Linked DNA regions of Homo sapiens: all the other regions are linked to region 1. The links are contacts of gene promoters, found by promoter capture Hi-C in blood cells and fetal thymus (Javierre and others, 2016). All regions are on one chromosome and are shown on one strand. Each heading gives the region's core, a stretch centred on a gene start or on the middle of the fragment in contact. The rest is flanking DNA. Distances are from core to core; before and after follow the strand shown.

Evidence for each region. The method cuts DNA at HindIII sites, captures the fragments that hold promoters and counts their contacts. A CHiCAGO score of 5 or more calls a contact.
Region 2: a contact is called between a fragment that was not itself captured here and the fragment with the promoter of DNAJC21 in region 1, in 1 of 17 cell types (total CD4 T cells). The highest score is 7.9, in total CD4 T cells.
Region 3: a fragment that was not itself captured here is called in contact with the fragment with the promoter of DNAJC21 in region 1 in 3 of 17 cell types (fetal thymus, monocytes and total B cells); the score reaches 8.1 in fetal thymus.
Region 4: a contact is called between a fragment that was not itself captured here and the fragment with the promoter of DNAJC21 in region 1, in 1 of 17 cell types (total B cells). The highest score is 5.2, in total B cells.
Region 5: a fragment that was not itself captured here is called in contact with the fragment with the promoter of DNAJC21 in region 1 in 1 of 17 cell types (neutrophils); the score reaches 8.4 in neutrophils.
Region 6: a contact is called between a fragment that was not itself captured here and the fragment with the promoter of DNAJC21 in region 1, in 1 of 17 cell types (neutrophils). The highest score is 5.7, in neutrophils.
Region 7: a contact is called between a fragment that was not itself captured here and the fragment with the promoter of DNAJC21 in region 1, in 1 of 17 cell types (total CD4 T cells). The highest score is 5.5, in total CD4 T cells.

Annotation. Positions count from the first base shown.
Region 1 is chr5:34,928,178-34,930,861 of GRCh38, forward strand. DNAJC21 (DnaJ heat shock protein family (Hsp40) member C21) reads left to right here and starts at 1,382. Exons shown (of 12, transcript NM_001012339.3): 1 at 1,382-1,739. The coding sequence starts at 1,643. LOC124900961 (a long non-coding RNA gene) reads right to left here and starts at 1,504. Exons shown (of 2, transcript XR_007058731.1): 1 at 1,472-1,504; 2 at 1-956. RefSeq lists silencers at 1,058-1,527, 1,538-1,607, 1,638-1,837 and enhancers at 1,866-2,511, 1,978-2,147. The HindIII fragment of the contact is 5,598 bases long and covers 297-2,684 here.
Region 2 is chr5:43,598,347-43,601,030 of GRCh38, forward strand. All of the region lies in intron 1 of NNT-AS1 (NNT antisense RNA 1), which reads right to left. Among named protein-coding and RNA genes, the nearest start is that of NNT, 3.5 kb to the right of the region's middle. The HindIII fragment of the contact is 3,540 bases long and covers 1-2,684 here.
Region 3 is chr5:43,551,517-43,554,200 of GRCh38, forward strand. The region is part of intron 2 of PAIP1 (poly(A) binding protein interacting protein 1); the gene reads right to left. Among named protein-coding and RNA genes, the nearest start is that of PAIP1, 4.2 kb to the right of the region's middle. The HindIII fragment of the contact is 3,206 bases long and covers 1-2,684 here.
Region 4 is chr5:43,490,160-43,492,843 of GRCh38, forward strand. It overlaps C5orf34 (chromosome 5 open reading frame 34), which reads right to left. Exons shown (of 13, transcript NM_198566.4): 9 at 2,561-2,684; 10 at 2,056-2,150; 11 at 472-570. All of the region lies in intron 2 of C5orf34-AS1 (C5orf34 antisense RNA 1), which reads left to right. Among named protein-coding and RNA genes, the nearest start is that of C5orf34-AS1, 7.6 kb to the left of the region's middle. The HindIII fragment of the contact is 2,120 bases long and covers 320-2,439 here.
Region 5 is chr5:43,473,234-43,475,917 of GRCh38, forward strand. All of the region lies in intron 1 of TMEM267 (transmembrane protein 267), which reads right to left. Among named protein-coding and RNA genes, the nearest start is that of TMEM267, 9.3 kb to the right of the region's middle. The HindIII fragment of the contact is 7,857 bases long and covers 1-2,684 here.
Region 6 is chr5:43,313,658-43,316,341 of GRCh38, forward strand. No RefSeq gene overlaps it. Among named protein-coding and RNA genes, the nearest start is that of HMGCS1, 1.6 kb to the left of the region's middle. RefSeq lists enhancers at 1-144, 151-667, 668-1,182, 1,277-2,476. The HindIII fragment of the contact is 1,495 bases long and covers 641-2,135 here.
Region 7 is chr5:43,121,789-43,124,472 of GRCh38, forward strand. It overlaps ZNF131 (zinc finger protein 131), which reads left to right. Exons shown (of 7, transcript NM_001330707.2): 2 at 251-389; 3 at 1,421-1,522. The coding sequence starts at 266. Among named protein-coding and RNA genes, the nearest start is that of ZNF131, 2.2 kb to the left of the region's middle. RefSeq lists enhancers at 1-213, 214-781 and a silencer at 1-67. The HindIII fragment of the contact is 1,187 bases long and covers 716-1,902 here.

The DNA.
Region 1 (2,684 bases), core at 132-2,631:
ACCAAATCAAGTTGGAGGGAGAAAATACTCCAAATTAAGTTGGAGGGAAAAAAATACTTTCCCTTTCCGTTTTTTTTTTTTTTTTTGTCCCTCCCTTCCCCCCGCCCACCATCCCAATTCTGTTCTCAGGAGGGGAAAGGTTTCATTCTCCCCCAAACTCAGACTTCTCAATCCTTATCCATTACCAATTTACCAACTAACTGAGACTGTGTAGAATCTTCCTCTGGAAAAAAGGGAAGTGTATGAATTCTGAGTAGTGAGTTGGTTGGTCAGTGGCGTGTGAAGTAACCTGATGAAGCTTAGCGTGGGTTTTTTATTTTACTGGGGGCAGCATATTGGGGAAGAGAAGGATAACCTTACTAAACCGCTTGGGTACGCCAACCCTGTGCAATAGATATTAGCAACATAGCTAACCATACATGGTTAGTAAATACAACCCACACCTAACTGATGCATGTAAACATTCCACATTACAGTGAAATATATTGGTGTATTAATGCATTTTAATAATTATGGTATTATTTTGATACCTTTCAAAGTGTTTGGAATAATTGTGCAGATAGTCAGATCAACCAAAACCTACCAGTTAAATACTATCCTTTAACTGCTTTCTTAACCTAAACCAATCTTGGAAAGGTAGGATTAGAGGCCAGAAAGTTAGGATTAAAGTGTGTTGGATGGATAGATCAGCACAATTTCATCCATGTTGGTGGTAAGGCTTTTCATTAAGTGTGTTGATGCTTCCCTTTTAAATTGTTTCCGCTTAAATAATCTAACTGTCCTTTCTCAAGCATATTGGTCAAGATGATCAATACCAGATATCTTAAGTGGCAGCTGAAGAGAATTAAAGAGATTAAAAAAAAAACCTGATATTCAGTCCAACCGAATTCTGCTACTGTATTAGCTGAGGAGGCTTGAGCCAACCACTTGACCACTTGGAGTCTGAATCGCCTTATCTATAAAAACGGGGATCCATTGAGAAATTATAATCAGATATTTTCCAGAATCCTCTCCCATCCCAGCTCCTATCTCCCCCTTCAGCCCTCAGGTCGGCTGCCACTCACACTGACCGCCATCTGTGCCCCTCACAATGACACCAGCGTGGCCCTGCCTCCCTTCCGCGCGGCCCCGCCTCTCGCCCCGCCGAGGCCCCGCCTCTCACACCAAGGTCCCGCCTTCCTCCTGTTCTTCCCGGCCAAGGCCTACCTTCCTCCCACGCGGCCCGCCTCTTTCCCCGCCAAGCTCCCGCCTTTCTCCTGCGCGGCCCGCCTCTCTCCTCGCCAAGGCCCCGCCTTCCTTCCTCGGGGCCTCGCCTCTCACCCCGCCGAGGCCCCACCCCCTCCCGCGCGGCCCTTTCCGGCACAGAGCCCACCCCTAGCCCATGCGAAGCGGCGGCCGCCGGCACCGCCCCCGCCGCGCTCCCGCTTGCCGCAGCCTGCGTCGTCTGCCGCCACCGCGCGCCTTCACTGACCTACACCACCGCCGCCGCCGCCGCCGCCGCCGGGCTCGCTGGCTGGCCCGGTGCGGGCGGCGGACTCCCGCCGGAGAGGACTGCCAGCGCCGCCGCCGCCGCCGCTTCGGCCCGGGCCCGGGCCCCGACCCCGTCCCGGGCCCCAGCGCCGGCCGCCCGCCCGGTCGGGCGATGAAGTGTCACTATGAGGCGCTGGGGGTGCGGCGCGACGCCAGCGAGGAGGAGCTCAAGAAGGCCTATCGGAAGCTGGCCCTGAAATGGCACCCGGGTAAGTACCTGTCCCGCAGCCCCCGCGGCCACTCGGAGAAGCCCGGCCCTCCCCGACCTTCCCTTCCCCCGGGCGGACTCCGCGGAGCCAGCAGAGAGGGACCTGGCGGCCTAGGAGCTCCTTGCCCCGCCCGGCCAGTGCCCGGAGCCGCCCTGCCCGTCTCGGTGGGCGAAGCGCTCTGCCCTGGCGCACCCCGGCTCACACCCCATCTCCTCATACCCGCGACCCCGGCCCCGCATCGCCACTGTAGGGGGAAAACTGCAGTCCAACAACCTCACTTGCTCCCGCTACCGGGTCGCAGACACCACGAGGGAGCAGTCGGGAACTCGGAACTCAGACCTGCCCCAGGCTTGCTTTTCCCTGCGTCCCTTGCAGCGCAGCCTCTCGGTGTTTTTCCTCCGCTGCCCTCCACCTCGTCCGGGAATCCCAGATACTTCAACCTGATGTATGGCTCTTTTCGTTTCTTAGTTAAGAAGTTAAGACACGGGAGCTAGTAAAATATCTTTTCAATAGGGATGCGCTTTTTTCGCTGTTTTTTTTTTCTTTTAATAAGCTGTTTAAGCAGACCTTGTACTTCACTTTGGACATGATTCTGCCGGGGAAGGTTTTAATCAGGCGGCTTCCCCAGTAAAGTTTGTATGTTTACTTAGAAGTATCCTTCCTTTGGATGTTTCATTGGTCTGTAATCCAGGCCTGTGTGACTTTTATGAAGTAATCTGATCTTCCAGGCTGGGAAACTAAGAGAGTAGTTGACTTTCAGCTTTTTGAGGTTCATATGAAGAGGCTTTCATATTAGCATTCATCAGTAAACACGGTTACAGAGTATCCAATATATGCAAGTCACTGCACTCTACTAAGTAGATTTGGAAATGCTGAGACAGGGGTCTTAGAGTCTTGTTAGGAAAACAACTTTCTGCCTTACACAAATGAAAAGTTAAATACAAC
Region 2 (2,684 bases), core at 66-2,565, 8.7 Mb after region 1:
AGACCAGCCTGTCCAACATGGTGAAACCCCATCTATCAAAAATACAAAATCAGCCAGGTGTGGTGGTGGTCACCTGTAATCCCAGCTACTTGGGAGGCTGAGGCAGGAGAATCACTTGAACCCATGAGGCAGAGGTTGCAGTGAGCTGAAGTCACCCCACTGCACTGCAGCCTGGGCTACAGAGTGAGACTGTTTCAAAAAAAAAAAAAGAAAAGAAAAAGAAAAAGAAAGAATTGATAATAAATGGTAGGAGGAGAGGAGATAGGAGAGTATAACGAACCAGTGGAGGTGAGATATTCTGGTTTTTATTTTTCTATTATGGGTAACATGTAGCATAAAAAAAGATCTTCAAAGAGATGATGCTTTGCAAAACTTATATTAAATTAGAACTTTTAATCAAATGCAAAATTTAAAAAGTGAAGTATTATAAAAATGTTAAGCGTGTTAAAGCAAACTAAATATGGCCTGAGAAAGACTCCGTACTTCTATATTTGAGTCTTTGTGGATGAACTGTAATCTAACTTAATAAGCAAAATTGAAAACCTGACTTAATAACTATGCACCTGTAACAGGAGCTGAGTGGTGGCCAATCCCAGCAGCCATACTTCAACCACTCATAGACTACTGAATGTTCAAACTGCATTCAAATAAGGCAAATGCTGAGCTGTAACCAATCTCACTGTTTCTGTACCTCATTTCCAATTCCTGTACCTCACTTTACCTTTTTTGTCTATAAATTTGTTCTGACCACAAGACACCCCTGGAGTCTCTGTGAATCTGCTGTGATTCTGGGGGCTGCCCGATTCATGAATGGTTCATTGCTCAATTAAACTCCTTTAAATTTAATTTGGCTGAAGTTCTTTTATCAAGTACTATTATGGGGTTTTATAATCAAGTAGTTTGATAATGGTGATAAATATATGATATATAGAAATTGCAGGAAAAGTTCAATTAGGTTGAGTGCTTATTAAACCAGTAAACCGGGTATATAACTAAGGAAATTTTTCCCCAATTATTAATACAAAATGACTTTCACCTGAATTTCCCTCAAATAATTTGGATTTTCACTTTAAACTCAATAACTGGCAAATCCATCCCTCTTCAAAAAACAAAGAAACTTCCCCCCAAAGACCCCCAAAACCCTCTTTACAGTGTGTTACCCTTAAACACACAGAATGCCCATGTAGTGGGCTGAATAGTGTTCCCCCTCAAAGTATCTGTGTCCGCCTTTATTTGGAAATACAGGCTTCGTAGATGTAATTAGTCAAGGATCTCAAGACAGAAACCATCCTGGACTTAGGGTGGTCCTTAAGACCACTGACTGGTATCTTTATAAGAGAGAGGAGAGGGAGGTTTGGACACAGGCACATAGAGAAGAAGGCAATGTGAAGATGGAGGCAGAGATTGGCTGCATTTATAAGCCAAGGAACACCAAGGACTGCCAACAACCAACAGAAGCTCTGGCAGAGGCATGGGATGGTTTCTCCCTCAATGCTTCCAGAAAGAATCCACCCTGCCAACCCCTTCATTTTGGGCTTCTGACCTCCAGAACTGTGATAGAAATGATTTCTGTTGTTTTCAGCCACCCAGTTTGTGGTAATTTCTTACAGCAGCCGTAGGAAACTAACATAGCTTCTATTCCTCACCAGCTTCCCAGACCCCCTAAACTATGATTACACAGATAATTTTTTTTTTTTTTGAGATGGAGTTTCACTCTAGTCACTCAGGCTGGAGTGCAATGTGATCTTGGCTCACTGCAACCTCCACCTCCTGAATTCAAGTGATTGTCCTGCCTCAGCCTCCCAAGTAGCTGGGGTTTCAGGTTTCAGGCACCTGCCACCATGCCCAGCTAATTTTTGTATTTTTAGTAGAGATGGGGTTTCACCCTATTGGCCAGGCTGGTCTCGAACTCCTGACCTCAGGCAATCCGCCTGCCTTGGCCACAAAGTGCTGGGATTACAGGCATGAGCCACCGCGCCCGGCCAATTTTTTATATTGATTTAAAAACCCATAGGTTTTTGTAATTGGTACTTACATGAATATGCAAAGGACAATATTCACAGTAGTATGCCATGAGCTAGTTTTTTAAATGCTCACAGAAATTTCAAATGCAAACTGGTTTTACTTATGTAGCTTAAACAAATGCCAATTGTTGAACTTTGTGCTGGCTCTTTAATATCAGTTCTCTTTTTTCTTCCAGTTAATGTTGATTAGCATCAGCTCATTTAGTCAGTTAACATTTATTTCCTAAAATCAAACACTCTTGATTGGTCAGCCTGGGAGAAGAGGGCTAAGATTAAGGTTAGTGATGGTTCCCTTAAAACCTGTCGAGTGTCTGCATTGTTAGACACACTGAAATCTAAGAATCCCATCTCTCTGGGGCTGTTCACTTTACTAATAATTATTTATAAAAGGGAAGCTGAGACAATAAATTGCCAATAACCATGTAACATAATAACCACAATGAAAAGACATTAAAGCTACCTTTTCTGTAGCCTGATTTTACCTAGATGGTGGGTTTTGGTAACAAGCCATCACTAGAGGTCAGTTTTTGATTACATGTCTTCTCAGGTTCAGCCTATGTTTTGATTTTTGGCTACTGGGCACCTCTCTGGTTTTTAGGCTTTAAAGCAGATCCAAATGTTATATTATAGTCTTGTAAATGTTTCATCCTTTTTGCTTCT
Region 3 (2,684 bases), core at 120-2,619, 8.6 Mb after region 1:
ATACTTAATGTTAACTACATACATGCGTGAATTTTATAACTAAAAACTAGTCTTAAGTTTTTGATATACAGTTACTAGTTTTACAGACTTGTAGTATCCTACCACTATTAATGACAAGGAACAGCAGAAAGGCAAAGGTACGGGTCCCAGCTGAAAGTACTAATTTCCTGTTTCCATCAAATGTCATTCTTCGTGGCAAAAATGCTGCTTAGAGCGCTGATTTGCAATCTTTTTTTTTTTTTTTTTAAAGTCAACAGAACTCTCTTTTAAGAAAATGTAAAATCTGATCAGTAAAAGAAGAAAGTAGAACTGCTCTGAATATAGCAGAACAGAGGATCCAGAGCCTGCCATTTTAAGCAAAAAAAGGAGGCATAGAGTATTTGGAACAGACAGGCACTCCAACGTGTTTGAATCAAAGCCTGCATTACTTCTCTAGCACCAGATTTTTTAAAGCCACAAATTTCTTCAGTCTTCAATGTGGAGTCAAATGGCTTCCAAACAGAGATATTTTCAAGTTTTATTTTTCTTAGAATTCTATGGGAGATTGGGAGAAATAGAAAATGTACTTTTTCATGGTAGGTACTCTATATACATTGTCAAGAGATGAGAACCTATTACAGAACCGTGGGAATAAAAGAAAACTGATCAGACACTACAGAGAGTGAATATAGTCACGACTACTTTAGCTAGCTGGATTGAATTAAGGCAAGGGTGTGCAGGAGAGGTGAGTCAATATGCCACCAAGTTCTTAGTGTAAGCAGCTAGTTAGAAGAGATTCGCATGAGATAAATAATTCTTACACTGTGTATAGATTTTATACTTGCATTTGAATGTGAGGTCCTCAAGAAGTGGTCAAATAAATGAAAATGTATGCCTAGAGTTCACTAGAGTTCAAAGGAATAATTAGATGTCAGGGTTATTAGCACATAAATAAGTGATAGATTCTATGGAATAGGCGGGATTAGCAAAGGAGGTAATAAAATGGAAGAAAGAACGTCACCAACTGTCATCTGAGGGGAAAAGGAATGATCTGCAAGTTGGGAGGATAAAGTACTGCCACAGAAGCCAAAGAGGTAGGGGAGAAGAGATGCTCATAACAACAAATGCTACAGAATAAATTCATAGGTTGAAATCTGGAAGAGAATTATCATTGCAGAGTCTCGGGAGTGAAGGAGATTATACTCAGAGAGAAAAAAGAACAAAACTAGTACCTCAAATACTTAGTTCTTAAAACAATGGGAGGGAGCTTCTGATAGACTAAAAAGGTACCTTTGCACCTAGCACAGGACCTGGCACATGGGGATTTATAAACTGAATAGATCCTACAGTGCTCAAAGTTTTAAAATGAGATTTAGGAAGATAAATTTAAAAATCGGAAGAACATCAGTCACAAAAATAGTATCAATACAATTAGGGAGATCAGACTGCAGAGGTCTGAACAGTGAGAGACAGTGAATAATTTTACCTATTGGAGAATGATACTACTGCAAGGCAGAACAAAAACTGGGAAGTAACTTGAAGAGGGATTCTCTTAGAAAAAAAGCTCGTTTTTTTGCAGGGGAGGAAGGGGACTTCTGTCTCTTCATCAATGCTTTATGAATTCCTATGTTAAATTTTTGGCTCTGGTAAGTGAACTGTGACAAATATTCAAGGCATAATGGTTTGTCTGAGAAGAAATAATGGCCAGGGATAAATGGATATAGCAACTCACTGGTAAGAAGACATGGAAAGTAGGAAATTCTAGCAGCAGGATTAGAGGAAGAACTGAAGATAAAAGGGCTTGGTGCCTTGAAAGAGTTAAGAAAGCACAGCAGAAGACTACCATAAAGGCTGTTAGAAAAAGGATACCAGGAAATAGATTTTCATGTGTAGAACAAAAGCAGATTCAATAAATGTCTGCAAACTGAGCCAGGAGACTACTAGAATAGAGACTCCATGAAGACAGGAATTTCTGTCCATTTTGTTTGTTGCTGTATCACCGGTGCTTGACTCATGATAAGTACTTGACTATTTGTTGAATGAGTGAATGTAGCTAACTTTGGATTATGGCTACTAAAAGGAAATGTTTCCTTTGCAACAAGAGCTTATCCTAAGAGTCGGGGGAAAAAAGGATCCTGCTGTTCTATGACTAATTGGATTGAGAAAAACTCTCTTAGCCTTAACTATGGGTAAAGATTAGGGTAAACCAGTAAGGCTAGAGAATATACCAGAACAGGGGTAGTAAGCCTGAATGCCTGTAGAATTCAGGTAGATTACAAATGAATGAAATAAGCCAGAAAGCAAATTAGAGCTCACAGACTCCATCTAAAGAGAATGCCTCTACTCAGCTCCAACCAATTTTTGCTGTATCAAAATGCCAGTCCACTAAGGCCAGATTTTATGACAAACCAGAACATTCAAGTTTCTAATATCTAATTTAGGTATTGGTTAATTAAATAAAACAACTTAAAGAAAAAACAAACCCATTCAGGGCTAGAGAAGACACCTGCAGGCCACACAGGTTTCCAGGTGCCAGGCTGCAATCTGTTTTGGTAAATTGAGCACAGGAGGTGCTGATCTATTAGAGGATGGCAAGGAATGCCTAAAAGATGCAGTGGCTCAAAGTAGGTGGACTAACATGACTTTATATACTGCTCGACAGCCCCAAAGTCACTTGAACCACGTAAAAATAGTTGATACACGAT
Region 4 (2,684 bases), core at 130-2,629, 8.6 Mb after region 1:
AGCACACAGGAGGGACTAAAATACTTGCTTTATTTGATCTGCCAGTTAATTTGGGAGAAGTAACTAATATGACAGAAATTATTTAAAAATCAATGTTTTCTGAAAGCTTATGTTATTAAACCTTTTATTTCCTTCAACATTACTAAAAATTTAAGAATCCCCTTTAAATTTTTCCATAAAGTTTTCAGGATGAATTTGTCACATAAAAAGAGCCACTCATTTTCATGTTAAGTTTTCAATGCAAGGTTTTCTTACCTTTAGGTAAAATAGAATATGATGAAATGTAATAAATTAGATGTCTGATTAGAAATTATTTTCAAGCTTAAGCTATCAAAAATACTTTAGGAGTTAAACATATTCAAAACTAAGAAAGTTTTTTTGGGGAAAAAAGTCTCAGTTTACCATTTGACATTTTAATTTTTTTTAAAGTATTAGCTCTTCTAAACAGATTTAAGTTTAAAAGAAAAATACCAATTTTCTTGGAGAACAGAAGATGACGAATGAGTGGGCATCTCTCTGGGACTAGTCTGGGTCAGTCTCCTGCACCATGATGTTACTGTTGTCACATATCTAAAGTGAATACATTAAAAGAAATACTTGAAAAATGAACTTGAATACATTATAAAATTATAAACAAATGTAAAAATAAGACAATTTGGGAAAAAAGGATAAAGAAAAAATGTTAAAGTGAAGCATTTACTGGGCAATTCTCAAAATATTTTTCACTGGTCATAGAAAAGCCAAATTTTTTCCATTATTCATCAAGAATAAAATGATTTACTTATATTTGTGATTAATACAAGTGACATTTAAGAATCAAAATAAAGGCGATATTTGGATTTCATTTAAAGTTCAATTTTAAATGTTCTAATTCTTTTAGTTTTTCAAAGTAAAATGCGTTTAAGTTTTATCAAAAAATATTCACACAAAATAAGACTGACTGAGCATTTGCTTACTAAAATTTAAACCAAAAAACACCTGCTAATGCATATACACATATGCTTGTATGCATATGTGTAATTATATGTAACTTACTACATATCTAAAACAAGTATCAAGTTTAATAAAATGAATGATCTGAAATGATTGGCTGAATCAATAGAAATGTTTGCTAAAGAAACTATCTTTTTTGAGGCAAATCATTAATAGCAATGAATGAGCACTTAGACTGAAACACAATAAAACCCAACAGAAAAATACATTCAAGAGGTAACAAAAAGCTATTATTTTGTGAATATTCTCAAGTGAAATCACTAAAATGTGAAGACTATCACAAGATTTACTGTAATAAATTAGATAAACCAAAAGAAAAAAAATTCATAAAAAGCTGAAGACTCTTCCCCATTTTAAGATAATCATTGCGTAATTTTATCCACTTTATAGAAATATACAGAATTTCAGTTATTTGTGGTTGCAAATCTTATTTCAAATTGGCTAGAGGATTAGTTAATTGTTAACACAGCTGACCATATCCAACCTCCACAGCAAATCAGTATGTCTATAACACATTTCATTTTGAAAAGTTACTTGAATACAAATGAAATGATTAAAGCTGACCTGAAGGCCGGGCATGGTGGCTCATGCCTGTAATCTCAGCACTTTGGGAGGCCAAGGTGGGCAGATCACCTGAGGTCGGGAGTTCAAGACAAGCCTGACCAACATGGAGAAACCCCATCTCTACTAAAAATACAAAAATTAGCCGGGCATGGTGGCACATGCCTGTAATCCCAGCTACTCAGGAGGCTGAGGCAGGAGAATCGCTTGAACCCAGGAGGCGGAGGTTGTGGTGAGCCGAGATCGTGCCATTGTACTCCGGCCCAGGCCACAGGAGCAAAACTCTGTCTCAAAAAAAAAAAAAAAAAAAAAGCTGACTTGATCTATTTAGTTATGCTAAACACAAGTACAGCTATCAACTCTGAAACGACTGAAATGCCTTCATTATTATCCACATGGAAAAACTAAAAATATATATAACACTTAAATAATGCTTATTGCTTATTCTCTGTTAGTTAAAAGTAAAACATAAAAATAATTTTTAAAATTGCTTTTCAGTACCTTTCATATGGTTCAGGGTGTTCAATCTGAATTAACTGCTCTTGTCCATCAGGAAAAGTTAACTTACACCAACCTAAGTTAAGACCTTGATTTACCTGAAGAAGTAGAAAGATAAGTTTTATCATTTTAGAACTGAAAAAAAGAACATAAACAACCTATTCTAACTTCATTAACTTAAAGAAATAAGTAGAGGAATCATTAAAGATGCAACAGTTTAAATGTTGTTTACATGAGATATGGGTGTTATTTAACCACCACTCATATAGGTAATTATCAAAGCAAATGAAAATACTAATCCCTTTCTCTATAATCAGTTATCTTTAGAAAAGTGACTATTTGTCAAATCATTCTGATTTTTGCTAGGAAATCCAAAGAGATCAGTAAAGCTTCTTGACAGATTTTATACTTCAAAAAATGAACTGAAATAGTGTGGTACTTTGTTTTCTTTGTTCTGTTTTCCACAGATTACCAATAAAAAATAGATCTAAGTCTGAAGTATACCCACCTGTCTCTTCTCAATAGGAGAGCTGAAATTCCAATTTAGGGTTAGAGTAATGCCATCTAAAAAGATAGCATGTACTTTGTCATCAGAGTAGGCAAGAAATCTTCCCACACTGGGTATGAGTGAC
Region 5 (2,684 bases), core at 101-2,600, 8.5 Mb after region 1:
CATTCAACATAGTTCTGGCCAGGGCAATCAGGCAAGAGAAAGAAATAAAGGGTATTCAATTAGGGAAAGAGGAAGTCAAATTGTCTCTGTTTGCAGATGACATGATTGTATAATTAGAAAACCCCATCGTCTCAGCCCAAAATCTCCTTAAGCTGATAAGCAACTTCAGCAAAGTCTCAGGATACAAAATCAATGCGCAAAAATCACAAGCATTCCTATACACCAATAACAGACAAACAGAGAGCCAAATCATGAGTGAACTCCCATTCACAATTGCTACAAGGAGAATAAAATACCTAGGAATACAACTTACAAGGGATATGAAGGACCTCTTCAAGGAGAGCTACAAACCACTCACTGATCAAGGAAATAAGAGAGGACACAAACAAATGGAAAAACATTCCATGCTCATGGATAGGAAGAATGAATATCATGAAAATGGCCATACTGCCCAAAGTAATTTACAGATTCAATGCTATCCTCATCAAGCTACCATTGACTTCCTTCACAAAATTGGAAAAAACAACTTTAAATTTCACATGGAACCAAAAAACAGCATGCATAAATAGCCAAGACAATCCTAAGCAAAAGGAACAAAGGTGGAGGCATCACGTGACCTGACTTCAATCTATACTACAAGGCTACAGTAACAAAAACAGCATGGTACTGGTACCAAAACAGATATATAGATCAATGGAACAGAACAGAGGCCTGAGAAATAACACCACACATCTACAACCATCTGATCTTTGACAAATCTGACAAAAAAAAGCAATGGGGAAAGGAATTCCTAGTTAATAAATGGTGTTGGGAAAACTGGCTAGCCATATGCAGAAAGCTGAAACTGGATCCCTTCCTTACACCTTATACAAAAATTAACTCAAGATGGATTAAAGACTTAAACGTAAGACCTAAAACCATAAAAACCCAAGAAGAAAACCTAGGCAATTTAGGACACAGGCATGGGCAAAGACTTCGTCTTTTGTTACCAAAAGCAATGGCAACAAAAGCCAAAATAGACAAATGAGATCTAATTAAACGAAAGAGCTTCTACACAGCAAAAGAAACGATCATCAGAGCGAACAGGCCACCTACAGACTGGGAGAAAATTTTTTGCAATCTATCCAACTGAAAAAGGGCTAATATCCAGAATCTACAGAGAAACCAATTTACAAGAAAAAAGCAAACAACCCCATCAAAAAGTGGGTGAAGGATATGAACAGACACTTCTCAAAAGAAGACATTTGCCAGGCGTGGTGCTCACGCCTGTAATCCCAGCACTTTGGGAGGCTGAGGCAGGTGGATCACCTGAGGTCGGGAGTTCGAGACCAGCCTGACCAACACGGAGAAATCCCATCTCTACTAAAAATACAAAATTAGCCAAGCGTGGTGGTGCATGCTTGTAATCCCGGCTACTCGGGAGGATGAGGCAGGAGAATTGCTTGAATCCAGCAGGCAGAGGTTGTGGTGAGCCAAGATCACGCCATTGCACTCCAGCCCGGGCAACAAGAGCAAAACTCTGTCTCAAAAAAAAAAAAAAAAAAAATGAAAAAAGGCTCATCATCACTGGTCATTAGAGATATGCAAATCAAAACCACATCTCACGCCAGTTAGAATGGCGATCATTAAAAAGTCAGGAAACAACAGATGCTGGAGAGGATGTGGAGAAATAGGAACGCTTTTACACTGTTGGTGGGAGTGTAAATTAGTTCAACCAATGTGGAAGACAGTGTGGCGATTCCTCAAGGATCTAGAACTAGAAATACCATTTGATCCAGCAATCCCATTCCTGGGTATATACCCAAAGGGTTATAAATCATTCTACTATAAAGACTCATGCACACGTATGTTTATTGTGGCACTGTTTACAATAGCAAAGGCTTGGAACGAAATGCCCATCAGTGATAGACTGGATAAAGAAAATGTGGCACATATACACCACAGAATACTATGCAACCATAAAAAAGAATGAACTCATGTCCTTTGCAGGGACATGGATGAAGCTGGAAACCATCATTCTCAGCAAACTAACAGAACAGAAAACCAAACACCGCATGTTCTCACTCATAAGTGGAAGTTGAACAATGAGAACACATGGACACAGAGAGGGTACACAGGGAGGGGAATACCAGGGCCTATAGGTGGGTGGGGGGCTAGGGGAGGGATAGCATTAGGAGAAATACCTAATGTAGATGACAGGTTGATGGGTGCAGCAAACCACCATGGCACGTGTATACCTATGCAACAAACCTGCACATTCTGCACATGTACCCCAGAACTTAAAGTATAATTTAAAAAAAAGTCAGAAACAGTATAGCTATTATAACATCGTTTTGGCGGTTTTAATCAATGTAATGAGGAAAAAGAATAAAGGCAGGAGAGGGAGGGAAGAAAATGTATCATTACATTATCAGGAAGGAAAAGATAATTACATTAGTTTGCAGGTGAAATGACTGCCTACCCAAGAGAACCAACAGAAAACTGTTGGAATTTAAGTTGAAAAATGTGGTTAGTTCAAGGTATGAACTAAAACAATTTTTCAATATAATAGCAATAATCATAAGATGGGAAAATGAACATTCACAACAGCAACTCAAAATGCCAAGAATTAAAATAGCAAGAATGAAACAACAAAACTCTATTAAAAGATGAAAAAGATCAGTTAACTAGAGCTCTAATGGCTT
Region 6 (2,684 bases), core at 138-2,637, 8.4 Mb after region 1:
AGGAAGTGGTGTGAGAGACTGACGTGAGGTGGCACGAGAGCCCAGTTGCCAATGACGGAGCTGCGAGATACGGCGAGAGCCAACGGGAGCGGAGTGAGAGGTTCTCCGACCAATTGGGACTAAGTGAGAGGAGATGCGGGCCAATGGGTACTCCGCGTCCCACCGCTGGAGAGATGGTCAAATGTGGGAGGCGAGGTGGTCCCAGCTTGGGAGTCTGTCAGGTTGCCTAGCAACCAGAACTAGGCTTCACCTGAAAGATTTCTGAAATACTGTACTTGATTTGAATTCAGTCTTAACGTTTTCTAGCAAAGTGTGCGTAGATTGCAAATTGGAGCAGAATACTTCACCCAGAACTTGTATATGTGTAAATAGTCTAAATACCCGATTTGTAAATACTCAAATATTGTCTCCTTTATTCAAAACTACCTTGACTTAAAGAAAACAGAACAAACAAAAGTGCTCTTGAGACAAAGCTTTCTAACTAAACCTAAAACAAAATGGTTTCAGGATTAGGCATCCGTGGGGAGGGTGCAGAGCCTTGCCTGTGAAGGGAAGTTGATACTGAATTCAAGGATTTTTGCCAGGCCATGCACTCTGAGGAAAGGGACTCCATTTGGCCTGTTGCCCACTGTATCTTCTAAGCTTCATATGTGGTACCTGCCAAGTAAAAGGCTGTGGAAAGGCCACGTAATTGTCGGCATAGTAAATCCATCGGATACGGACTGCCTAACTCCCCCAGCAAATAGAGAGGAGCAATTCAAGCTAGAGGAATTCACTGAAACACTATTTGGGGGAATCCAAAGGAGGACACTTGTGGCTTTGCAATAAACTCTGCCTCTATCTGGTCAGAGAGAGAAGCCATAATACTTAGCTTTGGTGGGGGACCATGAGTGAGGTTCGGAGTTGTTTGTATCTCTCCCCATCTCAATTTAATTAACAGGAATGCTATTGATAAGGGGTCATTGGTAATTCTGTGATTCACACAATTATTGTTATGGGAGATTCTTTTAACCACTATAGATGCTAACCTAGTAAGACACATTCTCAGCAGCAAAGTGGCAAAATATATTGGAAATGGAACCACTGTGAAGTGGTGGCATAAATGACTTGGGGGAAGAGGACCACTCAGTAATGATTTCCATTCCACAGTATTGCCCATGACTCACTTCATATGTATGTAAAGTAACTAGATAGTAAACAGAGAGAGAGACATTGCCTGATTATGATCAACAGCAATTTGGGGTGGGGTAGGAGATTAAAATTCTTGGCATATTGGAATATGCTGAAAGGCAGTAAGGACAAACACAAGAAAGAAGATACAGTTTTGTCGTTAGGAATCGCAAATAATTCCAACTCCAGGAGTACATAATGGGAAATGATTAGCCAGACGGTCATGAGAATGACCATCTTACACAACCGGAAATTTCTACAAGGAACAGACCGTCTTTTTGATCACGTTAATCTTCAATTAAGCAAAGTGAGCATGATTATTGATTACTGGGAAGCCAAGCAATGGAGAACAAAAAGGGTTAGTAATTAGATACAGAAGATCTTGTTATAAATAAAGTTTCCATGCTGCAAAAGAAATAGCAGTCGAATATAAAATTTTCTTTTTAATTCTCAGCAAGGCAAGGTACTTCTATAGAAGGGTGCACCCTTACAGATGGAGCAATGGTGAGTGCACACTTGGACGAGGGAGGGAAAGGGGTTCTTATTCCTGACGCACGTGGTCCCCACTGCTGTGTCGTTCCCTTATTGGCTAGGGTTAGACTGCACAGGCTAAACTAATTCCGATGGACTAATTTAAAGACAGTGATGGCGGGAAAAATGGTTATGAAATGAGTCAGGGTGAAGAATGAATTGGAATGAGTCAAGGTGGAGTACGTAATCAGAATGAGTCAAGGTGGAGAATGAGTCAGGTTGGAGTAGGTAATCAGAAAAGGTTGCTTTACTAGGAAGCTACGTTTAAAAGTAGAAGGCAAAGAATGGAACATACTGACATATTAATTCTTTGAAGAGAAATTTAGAATTCATATTTAACAACTTCCTCCTCTTGCATTTTTCTTACAGCTTTCTCTTCAAACTTATTTAACATGTCTTGATTTAGTTGTTCTGCTTGATTTTCCAAAAGAAGAAGCTTTTCTGGATGAGGTGGAGGATAGTTAAGGGAGGTTTTAGTAAGTACCGTTTCTATGAGCCTCTGCACCAACCCACAGATGCATGGTATGACACAGCACCTGACAAGAATAAGTACACCTATTATGACTATGAGGGAGGTAAGAATTGGGGCTATTATTCCTTTCCATTTACCGAACCACTTTTCTAGCCATCCTGTAAAGGGATCATTTACCCGTGAGTTGCTGGCTAACTCATTGGATAGAGCAGTCAGACCTCACAATGCCTTTGTTATACTTCCATTAGGGGTGGCGTTGTTTGGGATGAAGGTGCAACATTGAGTTTTAATCATAACGCAAACTCATCTTCTTTCTGCTAATATCATGTCTAAGGCTATCCTATTTTCCCAAGCCATCTGGCTAATAGCCCCTAATTGCTCAGCTATTCCTTTAACAGCATCTCTAGTGTAGTTAATACATCACTGTTGGTTGTAATAGATGTCGTTTAACCAATCTGCATTTTTATTAATTGTCACCCACCAAAATATTGACTCAAATCCTGCAGCTATT
Region 7 (2,684 bases), core at 59-2,558, 8.2 Mb after region 1:
GCCCACCCCGCTCTAGCTCGCGTCTCCCGACTCCAATTAGGTCAGGCTCGGAGTCCCGCGGCCGCGGCTCCGGTCTCAACGCTCCGGGGCCGCTCGGCTCGCCTTTCTTCCCTCGCCTTTCTCTCCTCTTGCTTCACCCTCCCCCCTTCTTTTCACGTTGCTGGTTTTTTTTGTTGTTGTTTTATGCTTTAGGGGTTTTGTTCCTCGGCTCGAGCTCATGGGTGTACATTATCATGCTCTTCTTTTGTAGAGCAGCCCGACGGCCATGGAGGCTGAAGAGACGATGGAATGCCTTCAGGAGTTCCCTGAACATCATAAAATGATCCTCGACCGATTGAATGAACAGCGAGAGCAGGACCGGTTTACTGACATCACCCTAATTGTCGACGGTGGGTAGGGCAGTGGGCAGAGGAGCGAATTTTTGGCTTCAGTTTTTTTCTGTCCTTCGGACACCCGCCTTTTTTTTTTTTTTTTTTTTTTTAACCCATCCTCTATGGTCTCCCTACCAAAGTCTGCAGAGTGTGTGCACTGGGACCAGATTGCACTTGTCAGTGTCCACTCACACAGCGTGCTGCAGAAGGCTGGTTGGTCAGTCATGCCTTCCACGTAGTCTGGTGTTCATCTCATTTTAACTTCTTACATCCTGTTGAGTGCAAGATGATGTCGTTGGGGACAGATTGTCTCAAAATGTTTGGTTGATAGCCTCTTGTTGGTAAGCTTTGAGAAGTCCCTTACAGGAGTCATTTGGGAAGTGTTGATTTTTTTTCTAGTTTCCCAAATGGTCTTGAAGGGAGAATGAGAGATTCCATTGCAGCACTCATACCCCCTTTGAGAATCTCCAAAATAAAATGGGGTCTTTACCAGCCTTAGGAGTTGCCTCTATAATGGAAGGAAATCCAGCGTGGGTATGTTTTCTGTTTAGCGAAAATAGGTTTCTCAAGGTAACCTGTTTTTAAAATTATGGGTCTACCATAGATGGAGCTTCCAAATATTAGGCATATTAAAATGTTTTTCATAGCAGACATATCCAGCTTTGTGCTTACGGTTTTTTTCTCTCTTTCCAAATGATATGTGACCTTTTGGGTTGTCCTTTTATTTAGCAGTTTCAACTGAGTTGGATATGCTTCTCACTACTTAATTGGAAACAACAGAGTGTCAAGAGGCTCCTTACCTAGTGTTGTAAATTAGGCTTTATAAAACTAAAGGGGTTTGAAGTGAAGATTTAGCTTTATATCTAATTGAGATTAACATTTGCCAAGATAGCTGCCAAGAATATTCTGCATTTAGTTCAATAATTTCTGTAGTTACGTAATGAAGGAAGACCTATTTTGCTTTATATGATTTTTAAGTCTATTTTGTAGTTATACATTTGATTTTCGTGCTTGTGTATGATTTTCTTTTTTTTTCTTATTTTACCTAGGACACCATTTTAAGGCTCACAAGGCTGTTTTGGCTGCTTGTAGTAAGTTCTTCTACAAATTCTTTCAGGAGTTTACCCAAGAACCATTGGTGGAGATAGAAGGTAAATGATTCTTGTTGTTTTTTTATTTAATAAATCAAAGAAGCCATTTTATTTAAATGCTTGTTTTAAATACAATACTTAGCAAACAATTGGTGAAGCAGTTTTAGACAGTTTATCAAGACACCATAGGAAATAGGCATCAGTAGTTCCTGTAGGTAAAGGTAGATAAATTGTTCTTTTGATACCTGAGAAGTCTTACTTTCAGTGAAGTGCTTGGTTGAATGATCTGCCAGGAAAAACTTAGATGGTAGATGTTGGTCTTTTCCATTGTGGAAACTGGTGGTCATTGTTTTTTGAAAACAAGTATTAAACGTGAATTACTATCTTTGTTCAGTGGGCTTATGTTTCAGACTGCTGGAGATGCTGCAGGTTACAGTAGAAGCTTTTACTGTACTCTATAGCAGAAGTAGTGATGTATTAGCAGAGGTACAGATGACATGCAGTGTGAAGTGGGCTGCCATAATAGGGAGAAAGCTAGGAAAAATGAACTGAAGTAGCATTTAGAGGAAATTCTGGCTCTACAATGGGATGGATCAATACCTGTTACCTTGAAGCAAAAAGTGATTTTTGTACTTTCTAGACATTTTTCTAATAATAACCTGCCAAGTGCCAGGCGTTGTGATATGTAGTTTTGTGTATTGTCTAAGGCTCACAGCAATCGTTTGATGTTGGGCAGGATGGCTTGTGCTTGTAGTCCCAGCTACTCGGGAGGCTGAGGCAGGAGGATTGCTTGAGCCCAGGAGTTCGAGGCCAGCCTGGGGCAACATAGACCCTGTCTTTTCTTTTCTTTTCTTTTCTTTTCAAAAAGGGAAGTGGTGTTATTTGTAATAATTTACACTTCAGGAAGCAGGCTCTAAAAGGTTACTTGCCCAGGGTTGTCCAACTAGCAAGGAATTAAGTTTGTGCTATTAATTACCATGCTTTTTCTTCTGCTACTGCAGTAACTCCTCCCCTACCACCAGCATCAAAATCTAAAACAGCAGGAAATAAATGTTTGCCTACGTAATTACAGAATTTTAGCTTCTTTTAGGGTTCTTGGGTTTTGGTTTTATATCTATTTCATTGTGTACGTATTCTTTGTTCTGAATGGGTTGCCTAGAAACTCCTTTTTTCCCTTTGATGCCTAGGGGAGTAAAGAAAACAAAAAAGAGTTAAGAATATT